Regions from separate parts of the Homo sapiens genome. Here all the other regions are linked to region 1. The links are contacts of gene promoters, found by promoter capture Hi-C in human tissues and cell types (Jung and others, 2019). All regions are on one chromosome and are shown on one strand. The core of a region is centred on a gene start or on the middle of the fragment in contact, and the rest is flanking DNA. Distances in the headings are between cores, read along the strand shown.

The links. The method cuts DNA at HindIII sites, captures the fragments that hold promoters and counts their contacts. A contact is called where the count stands out against the background at its distance.
Region 2: a contact is called between a fragment that was not itself captured here and the fragment with the promoter of IDUA in region 1, in 1 of the 25 tissues and cell types used here (lymphoblastoid cells).
Region 3: a contact is called between a fragment that was not itself captured here and the fragment with the promoter of IDUA in region 1, in 1 of the 25 tissues and cell types used here (lymphoblastoid cells).

What each region holds. Positions count from the first base shown.
Region 1 is chr4:985,791-988,509 of GRCh38, forward strand. It overlaps IDUA (alpha-L-iduronidase), which reads left to right and starts at 1,254. Exons shown (of 14, transcript NM_000203.5): 1 at 1,254-1,452; 2 at 2,019-2,159. The coding sequence starts at 1,295. SLC26A1 (solute carrier family 26 member 1) reads right to left here. Exons shown (of 3, transcript NM_022042.4): 3 at 1,867-2,719. RefSeq lists an enhancer at 841-900 and silencers at 1,111-1,760, 1,543-1,720. The HindIII fragment of the contact is 27,782 bases long and covers 1-2,719 here.
Region 2 is chr4:1,298,967-1,301,666 of GRCh38, forward strand. All of the region lies in intron 1 of MAEA (macrophage erythroblast attacher, E3 ubiquitin ligase), which reads left to right. Among named protein-coding and RNA genes, the nearest start is that of MAEA, 10 kb to the left of the region's middle. The HindIII fragment of the contact is 9,660 bases long and covers 1-2,700 here.
Region 3 is chr4:602,253-604,963 of GRCh38, forward strand. The region is part of intron 1 of LOC124900162 (a long non-coding RNA gene); the gene reads left to right. Among named protein-coding and RNA genes, the nearest start is that of PDE6B, 22 kb to the right of the region's middle. The HindIII fragment of the contact is 9,672 bases long and covers 1-2,711 here.

The DNA.
Region 1 (2,719 bases), core at 4-2,503:
TGTTAAGCAATATTTTAACCCCTCTCCCCAAAATAAAAAGACCCAGAACACTGTAACTCTAATTATCCTTCTCCCAACTTAGAGAGGATTATTGTCCAGTATTTTCGTTTTGTTAGTAGACTGTTCTTTTTTTCTTTTCTTTTTTTAGAGATGGGGTCTCATTTTGTCAACCAGGCTGGAATGTAGTGGTGTGATCATGGCCCGTCTCAGCCTTGAACTCCTAAGCTCAAGCAATCTCCCACCTCAATTTCGTGGGTAGCTGGGCCTCACAGGCATATACCATCGCATCTGGCTAAATTTTTTTTTTGTACAGATGGGGTCTTGGTACATCTCCCAGGCCGATTTCAAACTCCAGGCCTCAAGTGATCCTCCCGTGTTGGCCTGCAATTCCAAAGTGCTGGGATTGCAGGTGTGAGCCACCGCACCAAGCCTGTTCTTTCCATTATTATTTTTATACAATGTTTGCTTGGATTCACACATGCATACATGGACTACACATGTACTACAGTTGTCCCATGGTATCCTCGGGGTATTGGTTCCAGGACCCTCCCAGATACCAAAATTTGCAGGTGCTCAAGTACTTGATATAAAATGGCACAGTATTTGCACATTACCTACGCACATCCTACTGTGTAGTTTAAATCAAGATTACTTATAGTCCCTAAAACAATGTAAATGCTCTGTAAATAGCTGTTATACTGTATTGTTTTAAAATATGTATTATTTCGTATTGCTTTGGCTTTAAAACAATATTTTCAGTCTGCTTGGTTGAATCCATGGATCTGAAGCCAAGTGTAAGGAGGGCCCAGTGTGCTCTTCTGGGGTAATTCTCCTTCCTGCTAAAGCGCACGCTTTACTCAGGAGGCTGGGGTGAGAAAATCGCTGAAGCCCCGGAGATGGAGGTTGCAGTGAGCTGAGATCGCGCCACTGCACCTCAGCCTGGGCGACAAAGCAAGACTCTGTCTCAAAAACACACAAAAACAGAGAAAAACAAGACAGTAATGGCTCAACTCACATAGCACCAACGGGCGAAGCGTTCTTCTGAGCGCTTTCCGAGTCATCGGTCCTCAGAGCAGCCCCTGAGGCCCGCAAGGAAGCGGGGCTCCAAGCCCTGCCGTGCTCCCGGCTCCCCGAGGCTCCCCGAGGCCACCCAACCCCTCCCACCCGGCCATCGCCCCCTCACCAAGGCCCCGCCCCGCGGCGGCGGTCACATGGGGTGCGCGCCCAGACTCCGACCCGGAGGCGGAACCGGCAGTGCAGCCCGAAGCCCCGCAGTCCCCGAGCACGCGTGGCCATGCGTCCCCTGCGCCCCCGCGCCGCGCTGCTGGCGCTCCTGGCCTCGCTCCTGGCCGCGCCCCCGGTGGCCCCGGCCGAGGCCCCGCACCTGGTGCATGTGGACGCGGCCCGCGCGCTGTGGCCCCTGCGGCGCTTCTGGAGGAGCACAGGCTTCTGGTGAGCGCTCCGCGGCCTCCGGGACCCCCTGGCCGCACGGGGAGAGCTCGGGCGCCCCCTGACTGCGCACTGTGAGAGCTTCAGAGACCGGAGCTCCCTCCTCTGGGGCCCTGGCTCTCCCGGGCCCGCCCCCCGCCGTGTTTGTGGGTGGGTCCTCCACCTGAGTGGGCGCCGGGGCGTGAGCCTGGGCCGCCCCCTGCAGCCCAGGCCGATGCCCGGGATCCTGCTCTTTGAGGTAAACCAGGAGTCTCCCCTGGGAGTGGACGGCCCTGCAGCGGGACCTGGCCTGCCTGTCCCATTCCTTCCACCTAGAGCTGAGGTACCCGCCTTCCTGGCAGGGCCAGGGCCAGGGCTGGCGTTGGCCCCTCGTCTTACTGCTGCTGCCGTTCCCCATGAAGATGGGACCTCCCCACATTCCTGGCCCTAAGGGTCATTTTATTAGTCACTGAACGCACGGGCAGCGCCTGGATCCTGCGCCCGGGCAGTCCTGGGCTTGAACGTGTGTGTCAGCCGCGCTGCCAGCCATGCTGAGGCTCGGGACTGAGCCGCCCCTTTGTTGTCCCCAGCCCCCCGCTGCCACACAGCCAGGCTGACCAGTACGTCCTCAGCTGGGACCAGCAGCTCAACCTCGCCTATGTGGGCGCCGTCCCTCACCGCGGCATCAAGCAGGTCCGGACCCACTGGCTGCTGGAGCTTGTCACCACCAGGTGGGCGGCGGGCAGGGTCTGGGCGTCCCAGAGCCCCTTACAGAGGCACAGATGGGAGGGGAGGGCTGGGGGCTGCTCGGAAGACCCCTTGTTCCCCCACCTCCCGCCGAAGCACCCTGTTGGGGAGAGCGTGTCCTTGCTGGCTGTGCTGGGGTGAGGGCTGTGTGCTGGAGGGAGCCCCTGCATGGGGCACGGTGGGCTTCCTGCAGGTCTCCCTGCAGGCTCAGGGTTGGCTGCGCCGCACCTGGCTCCTGGTGCACCCGTGAGCATCCCTGTGTGTGTCTGCTGGCCAGGCTGGGTAGGGCCACTGCACCTGAGGGCTGAGCTGAGGTCTCATCGGTCACAGCACCCTGGGCCCTGACGCTGGTGCAGGTGGCCACCCTGTGAGGGGGAGGCACGAGGTGTGAGGGGCACTTGGGTGTGTGGGGCCTTCTGGAAACACAGAGACCCTCGTGCACTTGGCCAGAGCCGCTGGCTCCTACCAGCAGGGTGGGCACCGGGCAGGCCTGGGCATAGGGAGTCCTCTTGGCACCTTGGAGGCTGCATGATGGCGGGGGACC
Region 2 (2,700 bases), core at 80-2,579, 310 kb after region 1:
GACCTCCTGGGCTCAGGTGATCTTCCTGCCTCAGCCTCCCGGGTAACTGGGACCACGGGCGCCTGCTTCCGTGTCTGGCTAATTTTTTTATTTGTAGAGATAGGTTCTAGCTCCGTTGTCTAGGCTGGTCTCCATCTCTTGGGCTCAAGCATTCCTCCCTCCTGGGCGTCCAAAAGTGTTGGAATAACAGGTGTGAGCCACCATGCCCAGCTCCTTGGCATATTTAGATCTGAGCTTATCATCTTAACACCTGCTGCCCAAACCAATTCTACCAGTCTCCCTTCTCTTCGGGAAGGGCAGCCCCTCCATCTCCCTTGGTCAGGCCAGAACCTTCAGGTTGGCCTTGATGCCTCTGTTGTCACAGCTCATGCCCAGCCCGTCTGCCCCTCCACCCTGGCGTCAGGACATGCCCAGGCCCAGCTGCTGCTGCTCTTCCCACCTCTGCCCCTGCGGCTCAAGTCGCATCTCTCTCTGGAATATTGAATAGCCTTCTGGCTGCTCCTGCTCTGCTCATGCCCACCCCGGCTGCCCCAGCGCCAGATCCTGTCGTCTTTTTGTTCTAGGAGTTTCCTGACCTGGGGATGAAGGCCAGGGTCGTTACAGTGGCTCCCAGGCCCTTTGCCCTGTAGGGTGCTGGGCCCAGTGGCCTTTCTGCCGCCATTCAGCCAGGCCAGCATGCCGAGCCCAGGGTTTTACTGCCACCTTCCTCTGTCTGGAGCGCTCCTTCCACAGATGTCCATGGTCCCATGTCCTCACCTTCAATCTTTGCCAACGTCCGTGGTCCCATGTCCTCACCTCCTTCAATCTTCGCTGAGCTGTCAGCTTGTGAAGCTTCTCTGACTCCACTGTTGAAACTGCAGCCCCAGCATCTCCCACTTCTGCCCTTTTCCCTCGTGAGTCGTGACCGCTGTCTCACATAACGGTATTTTGCTTGTTTCTGACCACTGGGATTATAAGCTCTTTTGAAGGATAGAGAAGAAATAAATTCTCCAATTAACAAATGAACAAAATAATATTAAATATTATTTTGGCAATTCTGTCTAAAGCAGTAAGAATTGAAATAGAAGTAAATGTAACCATTGAGAAAGTCAGCACAATAACGGGGCATACAGTAAGTGCACGAAACCCAGTCGCCACCCTCTATATCACCGCCAGCCAGTTAGAACACATCCCATTCACCATAACCCAAAGCAGCAGAGACAGACGATCCAACAGCATCCTTAGCAGGCAGCCTGACTGCCACGGAGCTGTTTCAGGAAAGGCCCGAAGGAAGATTGGCACTAGCAGAGGATGCCGTGTTTCTGCATGAAAACCGTAATGATATCATATTGTTCTTTTTGTGTTTGATAAATATTTCTTATTTATAATGAAAGGGACACCAAGAAGGGCTGGGCCTTGCCAGACACCACAGCCAGGTATGTAACTGCCAAAGTTGTGACCTTGTGGCAGAACAGCTGGCTCCCTTTGAAATACTTTATGGAAAGGTGAGAGAGGAAGCTCTGCTGATGTTGTGATTATGAACTGACACTCCTGCCCGCTTGCAGTCTCTGTTGTTTGGTCAGGGAGTGACCTGGGGATGAGGGCACTGGACCGCGTGGGGCACGGCCCCGGCTCTTCCGTGCTGCCGGCTTCCGAGGCTGGGGCTGCGTGGCGTGCGTGTGTGCCGCTGCCGCAGGTCGCATACCCTTTCCAAGACGGACCAGTGGCTTTAAAAGGTTCCTGCAAGGAAGTGGCTGGCTAAGGCTGGGCCTAACTGGGCGTGCACACAACAGGGAGCGCAGAGCTCAGGGCCGACAGCACTCTTGCCACTGCGAGCTTTGTAGGGCGCAACATCAATCTGGTTACATCCCCTCAGAAGTTGACTGGAAGTGTCATTTTTTCAAGAAGCCTCTTAGGGGATTCGAAGCGTTTTTCCTTGGTGAGCCTCCCTCAGGGTATGTGCTGTGCTTGGGGAGATTAGCTCAGGATGGCAGGAAGCCACCGTGATTACATGCCCCGCACCAGAACATGAGACTGGCCCCTCCAGGACGGAGAGGGATGTAAACTGCCACCCAGGGCTTAATCCAGCACTTCTGGCCCTGTGATGAGCTTCGTGATCAATATTTAGAAACCTCTTCTGGTTAATTGCAAAAGACAAAGAGCCTCATGCATTGGGGAAATTCTTCCTTCCCGTGCTGGTGAAAACATGATGATGACACACTGAAATGCGTTGCGTTTTGTCAGCAAATTCTGTCAGAAGCACGGCAAACGCTGGAGAAGGTTTGAGGAAGCGCATCCTGAAGCTGATGGCACCGTGTGGGGGCAGCGGGCGGGCAGGTGCAGACGTTTCACGCATGTCTCCACTCACACTGCTTGCCACATTCTGTTTCAGTGACGAAATCAGGGAGGATTACTGCTGTGAGTCACCAAAGGGGAAGATGTACTGGAGGAGATGTAATTTAACATTCGCTAAGTAGAGAAATCCCGTGAACATAAAAAGCTGTAATGCAACAAATTACTTAGGAAAAATTGGGGAGATGTGATAAATAAAAGTTTAATTCTTTGGTATAACCAGAAAAGATAGAACCAGAATTTAAAAGCAAATACCAAGCCAGGCACAGCGGCTCATGCCTGTAATCCCAGCACTTTGGGAGGCTGAGGCAGGAGTATCACTTGAGCCAGGAGCTCAAGGCTGCAGTGAGCCATGATTGTGTCCCTGCA
Region 3 (2,711 bases), core at 43-2,542, 380 kb before region 1:
AAGGCGCCAAAGTGGGGGCAGACTGAAGGGACGTGAGGGAGCCCCACAGGACAGACGGGGGCAAGCGGCCCGGCCACTGGGGCTGCCTCTGCCCAGTCACCTCCCTCCTCCGGCCTTCGTTCTGCTCCTTTCTACCCAAGGTCGGCCACTCCCCTGCCCTATAAAAACCCACCCATGTCCCCGTCAAGGGCAGCAGGCACCCCAGGCTGCTAAGACGTGCACTCTGAGCGCCTTCCCAGCCCAGGGACTGTCCCCAAGGTCCAGCTGCCCAGGGGCCCTGAGCAGCCACTCCCACTTCTTGTCATCACAACCGCTTAAGGACCTGCAGATGAGGGCATCCTATCCCACCCCAGCCCTGGGGGCCATGTTCAGGCCAGGAGAAGCCACCAAACACTGCCACCATCTTCCTGGCTCCAGAGGCTCTGTGCCAACACCAGGCCCCCTTGGGCCCACCTAGCCCACAGACCTTGGAGGCAGGTGCACGAGCAGGTGCATCCATCCCATGGACTCTGATGGGCTGTCAGGAAGGACGCAGGTAGAGCCCAGGTCCTGCCCAGCAGGTGCAGTTCCAAGGCTGCCTCTGGGTGGCGTGCTTGGACCAGTCAGGTGCCCTGTGTTCACCTAACACCGCAGAACCGGCTTCCAGCTGCCAGGGCGATGCAAGCCTGTAGAAGCACAGATGCGGTCATTCCTCAGCCCTACCCAGGCCTTGAGAGTGGAGGGTCAGGGGCCTCTGCACAAAGGCTTTGATCCCCCAAATACACACAGACCCCCACTTTCCTTGTTAGTTTTCTAACACTTCCATAGCAAGCTACCACAGACTAGGTAGCTTCAGCAGCAGAAATGTGTCCTCTGACCATTCTGAAGGCTGAGAGTCTGGGATGAAGACGTTGACGGGTGTGGTCTCCGCAGAAGTCTCTCTCCTTGGTCTGCAGACAGCTGCTCTCTTGCTGCCTCTTCACATGGTCTTCCCTCCACGCGGGCTCACCCAGGGGACTCTGTGTGACCTGGTCTCCTCGTCTTATAGGAATGCCAGCCATGTTGAATTAGAGCCCCACATTCATGCCTCATTTCTACTTAATCACCTCTTTATTTTTAAAATTTATTTATTTATTTATTTTATTTTTTTTGAGACTGAGTCTCATTCTGTTGCCCAGGCTGCAGTGCAGTGGCATGATCTCAGCTCACTGCAACCTCCACCTTCCGGGTTCAAGCGATTCTTCTGCCTCAGCCTCCCGAGTAGCTGGGATTACAGGTGCACGCTATCACGCCCAACTGATTTTTTGTATTTTAGTAGAGACAGGGTTTCACCATGTTGGCTGGTCTTGAACTCCTGAGCTCAGGCAATCCGCCTGCCTCGGCCTCCCAAAGTGCTGGGATTACAGGCGCGAGCCACCGTACCCGGCCTCCCAAAGTGCTGCGATTACAGGTGCGGGCCACCGTACCCGGCCTAAATTACCTCTTTAAAGGTCTTACCTTCAAATAACGATCACGTCATGAGGTACTGGGGGCTGGGATTTCAACATATGAATTTTGTGGGACACAATTTCAATCCATAACACTGACGTAAGGTTCTTGCACTGTATGTGAAGTGGTATAATATGTAAATGTGACAATTCGTAGAGAAAGAAATGTCTTTTCAACCAGTGATGCTGGAACTATTGAATATGCATGTGCAAAAAGAAAAAGAGAGCCTCGATCTATACCCGGACCACATATAAAAATAACTCAAAATGTACTGCAGACGTAAATGTCACACCTAAGACTACACAGTTGCTAGAAGTAAACCTAAGCGAACATTTCTGTGATCTTGAGTGGACAAAGATTTTTTAGCTGTGATTTCAAAAGCATCATCTATAAAAACAATAAACCAGCCTTCATCAGCATTAAAAGCATCTGCTCTTGGGAAGACACTGTTAACAGAATAAAAAGGCAATTCATAGACTGGAAGAAAGTATTTTAAAATCACATATCTGATAAAGGATTTATGTCTGGAATATATAAAGAACAAAATGCATTACAGCACCCCCCACCACACGCTTGTCTGTGGTTCCACTTTGTGTGGTTTCAGTTACCAGCAGTAAACTGTGGTCGGAAAATATTACATGCAACAAGATATTTTGAGAGAGAGAGACAGAGCCCACATTCACGTAACTTTTATTACAGTTTACTGTTATAATTGTTCTATTTTATTATTATTTTTAGTCTCTTATTTTGCCTAGTTTGTACATTAAACTTTATCATAGGTATATATTTATAGGAAAAAATGTAGTATGTATAAAGTTCAGAGTTCAGTACTATCCATGGTTTCAAGCATTCATTGGGGGGTCTTGGAATGTATACCCAGCAGATAAGGAGAAACTGCTGTCATAAGTAAACAAACAATCCAATTTGTTTTGAGGTTTGGGTTTTTTTGTTTAGAGACAGGGTATCATTCTCTTGCCAAGGCTGGAGTGCAGTGACACCACCATAGCCCAGTGAAGCCGTAACATTCCAGGCTCAAGCAATTCACCCACTTCTGCTTCCCAAGTAGCTGGAACTACAGGTGTACACCATCGCACCCAGCTAATTTTTTTTTTTTTTTGCAGAGATGGGGTCTCACTATGTTGCCCAAGCTGGTCTCAAACTCCTGGGTTCAAATGATCCACCCTCCTTGGCCTCCCAAAGTGCTGGGATTACAGGCATGAACCACCATGTGCAGCCACAACCCA